2 separate regions of the Homo sapiens genome follow, and region 1 is linked to region 2. The links are contacts of gene promoters, found by promoter capture Hi-C in human tissues and cell types (Jung and others, 2019). All regions are on one chromosome and are shown on one strand. The core of a region is centred on a gene start or on the middle of the fragment in contact, and the rest is flanking DNA. Distances in the headings are between cores, read along the strand shown. Region 1 overlaps LOC105378977 (a long non-coding RNA gene). Region 2 holds the start of SETD9 (SET domain containing 9).

What was found. Contacts are between HindIII fragments. The study calls those that stand out against the background at their distance.
Region 1: a contact is called between a fragment that was not itself captured here and the fragment with the promoter of SETD9 in region 2, in 1 of the 25 tissues and cell types used here (lymphoblastoid cells).

What each region holds. Positions count from the first base shown.
Region 1 is chr5:56,312,868-56,316,971 of GRCh38, forward strand. All of the region lies in intron 2 of LOC105378977 (a long non-coding RNA gene), which reads left to right. Among named protein-coding and RNA genes, the nearest start is that of ANKRD55, 82 kb to the left of the region's middle. RefSeq lists a silencer at 1,806-1,945. The HindIII fragment of the contact is 3,928 bases long and covers 1-3,428 here.
Region 2 is chr5:56,906,508-56,910,845 of GRCh38, forward strand. SETD9 (SET domain containing 9) reads left to right here and starts at 3,089. Exons shown (of 6, transcript NM_153706.4): 1 at 3,089-3,236. The coding sequence starts at 3,139. RefSeq lists enhancers at 2,725-2,814, 3,605-3,654, 3,750-4,338 and silencers at 2,965-3,174, 3,355-3,564. The HindIII fragment of the contact is 10,546 bases long and covers 1-4,338 here.

The DNA of each region.
Region 1 (4,104 bases), core at 215-2,714, 600 kb before region 2:
AAGATTGCAATTAAAATGTTGGCAGCATCATTGGAAGGCAGAGAAACTATCACCTTGGAACAAAGATTGGGCTAAAATAATCCAGAATGAGGAAAATTGTTTAAAAGAATTATCTACACCATGAAGAAATTCATCAGCATTTTGTGTAAAAGATGGAAGGTCAGAAGTAACGTACCTTTCATTTATACTGTGTTCAGATGTAGCATTTCTCAATGGGTATGTTATTGATAATTAGGCAGTACTGTGTTATATACAATTTTTCCACATTGGCAGCCACCTCGCATCCCCAGCACCTCCTCCAAAGTGCCAGCAGCACTCTCAGTCATGGTAAAACTAAAAAAGTCCTGAGAAACGCTGCTCTAATGTTTCAGAGTGCATGTGAATAAGTTATTTCCTTTAATCAGCATAATGATTCAAAATATTTGTAACATTTTCACTCTTCAGATGATGAACTGAGACCGAAAATGAATTGCTGGCTTTTTCACCTGTCTAGTGAAGGGTGCTGCTGGGCCTCAAATTCGAATAGACTGATTCCTAATTCAGTTCCTTCTCTAAAACATTGTGCTATCTTTCAATGGAGGCAGAGATTTATACTTGATTTCATCAACTAATATATATATGCACCTGAACTTTTGTTGTTATTTATATTCTAGCTATGTTCTAAGGAACATAGATTTTGTTAAACAGAACACACTTTGTTTCGCTGAGGGCCTTGATGGACACTTAGCGGTAGGAGCTAAGGGGAACTGGGCTAATTTGTCTGATAGAGGGAGAAGGTCATGGAGCTCCCAGGGAAAATAAGGAAGGAAGAGAGGACAGGACAGAGAGCCTAGAGGTAGAGGACCTTGGGAAGCCTGGAACTATGTAACATGACCCACCCACATACTCTCACTCTGCATCCCAAGGTATTACTTGTACAAAGTATTACTCAAGAAATGCTTAAAGTGTGAATTGTTTTGTATAAAATGACAAAGGGCTGAGTATTACACCTGGGTTGAGAGAGGCTGATACAGAGCCAGTACATATGGACCCAGGAGCCAGAGGCAGGAGGGATTATGAGTGCAAGTTTCCTGACAATTAGAAAGAATCAAAGGCAGGGATGTTCACAGGTGTAGAATTGGTGGATTCACCCAGACATCTGAGACTGTGGAAGCACTAGCTCACATCTGGGTCACAGGCAACTCAAATGAAGGTTGAAATACTGCAATGCTGCTGGGCTCTACAATATTTTCCAGGAATTGTAGTCAGGAGAACTGATTTATGTCAAAGAAAACCAAGCTTGAAATATTTGAAGTGACTGATGATTTACTTCCTAATCTGATGAAGACCATAGAGGAATTCTCTGGATAGAGTTAAATTGATGAGTGAGGGACATGATGTAGACCCAGAAATAAACACCTGGAAGGAATATGCAGCCAGCGGCCCCAGAACTGTTGCTTCCATAAGCATGGAGAGGCTTATGGGTGGTCATTCTCTGTAATAAACATTGGATGGTTCCGTAACTCCAGATTCCATGAAAATGACAAAATGACAGAAAAGGACTGAATCCATATATGGAAAGAGGACCAAATCTTAAGCATAATTATTATCTAGTTATGATTGCTATACACTGGGATTCTCATATAAACATCCAGTGTGTTCACAATAGGAACCTGGTGAAACCTGGCTTGGATTCCTTTGGCCACATCACTCTGTTCATGTTTCAAATGAGTCTGCTCTGGTTTGTTGCTTTCTTGGATTCAAAGCCTTCTTACTGTTAGGAAAATGTTCCTTATCTTTGCCTGTGCCGTAATCTTTATGTGAGAAACAGGAGATGGTGTCCCCGGATGCATGCACAGCCCTGCCGCTGAGAATCTCACTGAGACTTGTGCCTGAGTGCTTCCCCCTAGGGGTTCTCTGTGACATTGCCCTGCAGCCGCAGGCAGGGTGCTCATCTGCTAGGCCACGGGGTCCTTCAAGGATCCCAAAGTTCCAAACCGTCCTGAGAGGAGAATAAAAGAAAGACCATTACTGATGCCAGATTTTTGTGTTGGCTTCTTCTACTCTGATACTTCCACAGGAAGTCTCTCAATTCCTCCTCACAGTCCTAATTATCTTGTCCAACCTTTTGCCCTAAGGCAGGCTTGGGGCTGACATATCCCAGACACAATTAGTCGGTGGTTGACTCTCATTCAAATAATAATAATAAATCAGAATGACATTGGGTTCTTTGAGGATGAACTTGATAGGCATGAAATCTCAAACAAAATCCTGCGGGTATGAATCCCGGTTCCTCTCCCCGACCCCTGGGCTGAGATTGCCTGTCCCAGCCAGCACAGAAGGAGGGGACACTCTATCTGGCTTCCACTCTTCCCTCAGTGGCCCTGGGTTTCCACTGCAACCAGTTTAGAATCCAATATTTTACAAGAAGATGCCACAGAAGGAGCACAGCTACTGCTTAGACAGGCAACTCTCAGGTTTCCAGAATTTAAATGGGTTCAGAAATTATCCTACAAGTCACAGTTAAAGGGTGTTCAGGGACAAGTATAAGGCCCACCAAATAGTTCCTTCATTAAGGGACATTTACAGAATGCAATCGGAGTCCCAAAATTCAAAGAAAAACCCCACAACCTTAAGCTAACCATCTTTAGCTTAATTCTCTATATGAAAACATGAATTTGAAATTTGCATGGCATGGCATTCTACCCAAGCCAATCGTTTTGGCAAATATAAAAATTTCCTGGTAAATATTAATAGGCTCCAACCATCGGAAGTGAGGAAGTGTTGGGGGAGTCAGTATATTCCTTCCTTCACAACCTGGCTACCAGGAGTCATATTACAATGAAAAGAGGTTTTAGAAAATATTCTGACAATACCTAGACATTTATTCACAAAAAGTCTCAAAAACAGTCTTAAACATGGCATGTAGCTAGGAAAGTCCCAGTCTTTATCCTTGGGCCCTCTTTTACCTTTGAGTCGTCTGTTCAGCATTCCCCATAAAAGGCTTAGTTGAATTTAGGACAAGCATATTCTGATGGCAGGTGTGTCCAGTTTTGTACAGGGTCAGGTACAGGGTGCTGTGTGAAGTGGAGGACGTAGAAGCAACTTGGGGGTCTAGACTGCAAGCTTGCACCATTTGTATTCAGAAAGCTGGGCTTGCCAATGCTTATGCTTCATTCAGGTAAGGGCAGAGTTTCTGGTATAACACCCCTAACCAACCATCTGGTTTGATTACTACTCACCTCACCAATTAGAAACTATTTTAAATATCCATTATGTTAGTAAGCCTCCTGGCATGGGTTTAGTTAATTATATTTAAATGCTAAGTGGACCATCTTAGAAGATGTTGACTCTGGCTAGGGTGCTTCATTTGAGTTAACCAACTCCAGCAGTAGTTAACTGCTGGATCCCCCAAACAGGGTATTTTAAATTCTAGCCTCCCCTCTTGGAGGATAGATTAGAGTTAACTTGTATATACAACTACATCACAATGTCTCAACTGAAAAATTTTATTTATTTATTTTTCTATTAAACCAACCAATCAGCAGCAAACGGAAGAATTTTAAAATGAAATACCACACAGACAATATAGCACTTGAGACAGTGAAGACTGCACAAAGCAAGATAGAGTCAGAAGCAAGATAACAGCCTTAATGAGCTGACTTCCTGCTTTGTCTTCAGGAGCGTGAATCTTACTTGCCTCAGTAGATGCTGAGTTCCATGTAATGGCAGGCTCTCTTTGCTGAGATGGATTTATTGTACAAGAAATAAAGCTTCATTGAGCTCTTTCTAAAACTTTCTATTTTAGAGCCTAGAATTTCACTGGCCCAAGTGTACCTAGAATAAATCAGATAACTGTATTCGGAGCTTTCAGAACCTTCAAAAGAAAATTTGTGGCAAGAGCCACAGAAGTGAGTCTGCTCCTCTATCTAAGTCTGTATCTCCACTCTCCTCTGTTGTGCTGAAAGGTAATAAAACTCTAGTAGTGAAACATCTAAGGGTGAAGAAGCATATTTCAAATGTGTTATCAACGCAGGAGCAGAAAGCCAAATACTGCATGTTCTCACTTACAAGTGGGAGCTAAATATTGGGTATTCATAGACTAAAGATGGCAACAATAGAAAA
Region 2 (4,338 bases), core at 1,839-4,338:
CAGGCAACACAGTGAGACCCCATCACTAAAAATAAAAAAAGAGAGAAAAAAGATAAGAACAGAGGTCAACAAAATAAAAAATAAGCAGGGAAAAGTAATAAAGCCAAAAGCTGTTTCTTTGAAAAGATTGACAAACCCTCAATTACAATGATGAAGAAGAGAACACAAATCACCAAAATCAGGAACAAAAATGGGCTATTACAACAGATCATACAGACATTAAAAGGTTAGTAAGACAGTATTTATAAACAACTTTATACCAAGATATTTGGCAACTTAGACAAAATGAACAAATTCCATAAAAATATAACTTACCAAACAACACAAGATGAAACGGACATTATGAATAGCCCTATATCTTTAAAATAAGTTGAATTTATTATCAAAGAAAATTACAAGCCCAGATGTTTTCACAGGCAAATTCTATCTAAAAAATTTTAAAACATACTTCAAAATAAATGTGGGATGACAATAGCATATATTAAAACCTACAGGATCTGACCAAAGAGGTACTCATAACTGAGTAGTTATGTCAGAAATCCAAGGACGGTCAACATTTGACAATGTGTCATCATTCACTACATGAATAAATGAATAGAAACTATATGGTCATCTCAATAAGCAGAGAAAAGCATTTGATATTTATCATTCATTTAAAATTTAAAACAATAAAAATTTTTGGAAAGTCAAAAATAGAACTTTAAAAAACTTCATAAAGTATACATACCTACTAGAAAACTACAGTAAATATTAAACTTGAAGGCAAAACCTCAAAAATAGAAGAATGCAGTAGACTTAAACCAATATGGGTAGATCTTCAAGATGTATTTTTGAGGAAATCAAATAAGTTGTGGATCCTTATAATATTTTAACAATACTCACACAAAATACTATGTATTTTCTATAAAAACATACGCGGGTATGTAAATACATAAAAATAAAACTGGCAGAAAACACACCCGTCTGATAACTTCTGAGAAGCGCCAAGTACCAGGATTGGTGGAAGTACAAGGTACGGTGTTTGGTTAAGGGTGACTTGAGCTTTAGCTACCATGTTTCTATTTGTATAACTTTAGATGCTTCCATTAGAAAAGAAGAAAAGATTAAAATTAGTGACCTAATAACCTACTTTAAGAAACTAGAAAAAGAAGGTTTTCATTAATTACTTAGCTAACCAAAATTTAATTTTAATACCATAAATATAAAAAAACTGTAAAAATATACAAAAACTGATTTTTTTCTTTTTTTAGACAAGTACATTACCATAGGTAAAGATTAAACTAGTTCTTTTGGGTTCTTTGTTAAGTTTGGAGACTATAAAGAAACTTTCTTGTATGCCACTTATTAATACATCCTGGAACTGAATTGACTCCATTTAGCAAGTCAGGTAAATCTAGATTATGCCAAATTATCAAACAAACACAGAGTCTGAGAGAAAGCCTCTAGAGTTTGCTAACATTCTATATGATATGAACGAAATAGAGACATTGGTAGATACTCTTTCTCTTTATTTCTTTCAGAATAGAACAAATTAGTCCCGCAGCTACTGGCGATTGGCTGAATTTTTTTTTTTTTTGAGACGGGATCTCACTCTGTCACCCAGGCTGGAGTGCAGTGGCGGATCTCGGCTCCCTGCAACCTCCGTCTCTCAGGTTCAAGCGATTCTTCTGCCTCAGCCTCCTGAGTAGCTGGGACTACAGGCACGTGCCACCAACGCTCGGCTAATTTTTGTATTTGTTCTTTTTTAGTAAAGACGGGGTTTCGCCATGTTGGCCAGATTGGTCCCGAACTCCTGACCTCAGGGGATCCACCCGCCTCGGCCTCCCAAAGTGCTGGGATTACAGGCGTGAGCCACTGCGCCCGGCCTTGGCTGAGTTTTTATTAGATCTGAGCCGTTCAATTTCAATAGTTTAGGATCCAACCTCACTCTCAGGCAAAGAATAGAGGAAATGATACCAACGTATTTATCTGTCAATAAACACTTGGTGATTTGAATATGGTTAAGGGATTCCTGTAGTTTGCCCCCCTTAAAACTGAACTTTGTCCAAACCTGTTCTAAATATGTGTGTGCGTGTGCATGCATCTGGGTGTTGGGGAGGAGCGGTCGTAAAGTTCCTTTTAAATTTCACCTATGGGGGACTACTTCCCACCTCATCCTATGAAGTCAACATTAGCCTAAATACCAAAGCCAGATTAAGACACTACAAGAAAACTACGAAACAATATCTCTCACGAACACAGATGCAGAACTTCTAGACAAAACGTTTCCAAATTGAAGCGAAGACCATATTAAAAGGACAAAAGCACCTCAGTGGTTGCTTGGGGACTGGGGGAGGGGCTGGATTACTATCTTGGCTGTGGTGTCGAAAACCTATCAAATTGTTCACTTTAAATATGTGCAGTTTATTGTATCCCAACCATTCCTCAACAAAGCTGTTTTTCAGAAACATTTGTCCATGTAGTTTTGCCTTTGAATGGTTGGGTCAATGAAGAGAAAAACGAGTGAAAACAGGGAATCATGACACTTTGTTTTTTTACGTGTAAATATTCGCAAAACGCCCAAACTGGTAACTTTGGGAACACGGGTTCACGCAGAAGAAGGGCTGCTGTCTGGGGAGGACTGAAACTCGGGTTCCCGAAGTCGGGCTGCTCTGGGGCCACGGAGAGAAGGGGAGAGAACGTCGAGGAAGAGGCAGAGCTCAAGTGGACGGAGGATGGAACACAGAGCGCGGCCGGGACAAAGGGGCAGGCCAGACAGCCGTGACAGAGAAACTAGGCGGTCCGCTCCTGGGACGCGGTCTCGGGGGCGGGTTCGCCCCTGAGGCCCGGTGACCCTTCGCCCGCAACCAGGGCTAGCGCTTGTGTGCGCCCACGGAAGCACCCGAGCGACCGGAGAAAGAAAAAGTGGTCAAGGGGACCTCCTTCCAGCTCTACGCGCCTCTCATTCAGAGAGGTGAGGTCAGGAAAGGGGAAGGACGAAGCCCCAGAGCAACAGAAGTCAGGCGGTGCCAGGAACACTGAGAGCGGAGCCAGGGGAAGGCGGCCGAGCGCGGCCCCCTCTCCTCCCGGGCCGGGGCGGGCCCGAGGCCTCGATCCGCCTTCCCCGCGCCGTCCTGGTCACGGCCCCGCGGGGCAGCCATGCCTGGCCGTCTGCTGCGGGGCCTGTGGCAGCGATGGCGCCGTTACAAGTACCGCTTCGTTCCCTGGATCGCACTGAACCTAAGCCACAACCCGAGGTGAGAGGGCGGGACGGCAGAACGAGGGGCACCTGCCTTCGGTTCCCAGACGCCACCACGGCGGCGGGACGCAAAGCGGAGAGCCTGAGGCTGACTGCCGGCCTGAGATGGGCGGGCCCGGGTGGGCAGGGACTGAGGTGGGCGGGCCGGGTGGGCGGGGACTGAGGCCTCGGAGGGGTTTAAGGAACGCGGGCCAGAGGCGGGCGGGGCCGAGGTTGGTGGAGTCCGAGGCCCGCTGGAAGCCTGAAGTGGGCGGTGGCTTCAGGTGGGCGGGGCCTATGGCCTCTTTCCCAGTGTCCGCTGCGCTGCCGGGCCCGCGAGGCCGAGCTCGCCAGCCGGATGTGTCGCCTGTTCTTCCCTGTTGCGTTCGGCACTGACTGGGGAGCTTGTATCTGGGCAAAAATGGAAACTTTTTAAAAAGACTGCCCTTACCGCGTGAGAGTGCGTGGCTTTTTCTCCACCAGGGGTTAATTAGGTGCTTGAACTTCCTCAGAAAAGCCAAGCCAGGGTTTATTTTCATAGTTCATACAAGTACTTCACGTGGTTAAAGAAGCCCATCCCGGCTGTGAGAATAGCGTGCAGTAGCTCGCGCGTTAAGAACGGGCAGAACGCCACTCAAAAGCACGTCGGGATGGTGGGTTTCGGATTGGGGTGAGTCCCGCCGGCGTTATTAAGGGCGCACCAGTGATCAGCTCAACACCGTGCTCACCAAAGAGGCCGACCGGGCCTCCCTGAAGTCAGTGTCCGACAAATAGGGAAACAAAGCGGTTTCCGGAAGGTTGCATGCTAGGGAAACAGGAGATCAGTTGTATCATGACTCGGAACCGTGAGGCGGGAATTACAACCTTTTTGTTCAAGTAAAAATAATGCAGTTAGTACAAAAAGATAATGATTATGGAAATAAGAGGTGCAGTCATTGAAGACGTTAGTCGTCCTGGAGGGAGTGTCACAAAGTATACGATGTTGAATTTGTCTTTGAAACTACAAGGCCATTTTTAAAAAGCCATTGAATGTGAGGTCATTCATTCTCATTGTGATGACATTCAGCTTGGCTGTTGGGTGTAGTACGGGAAAGAGCTGAACTTCGTTTCTGCCTCTGGCT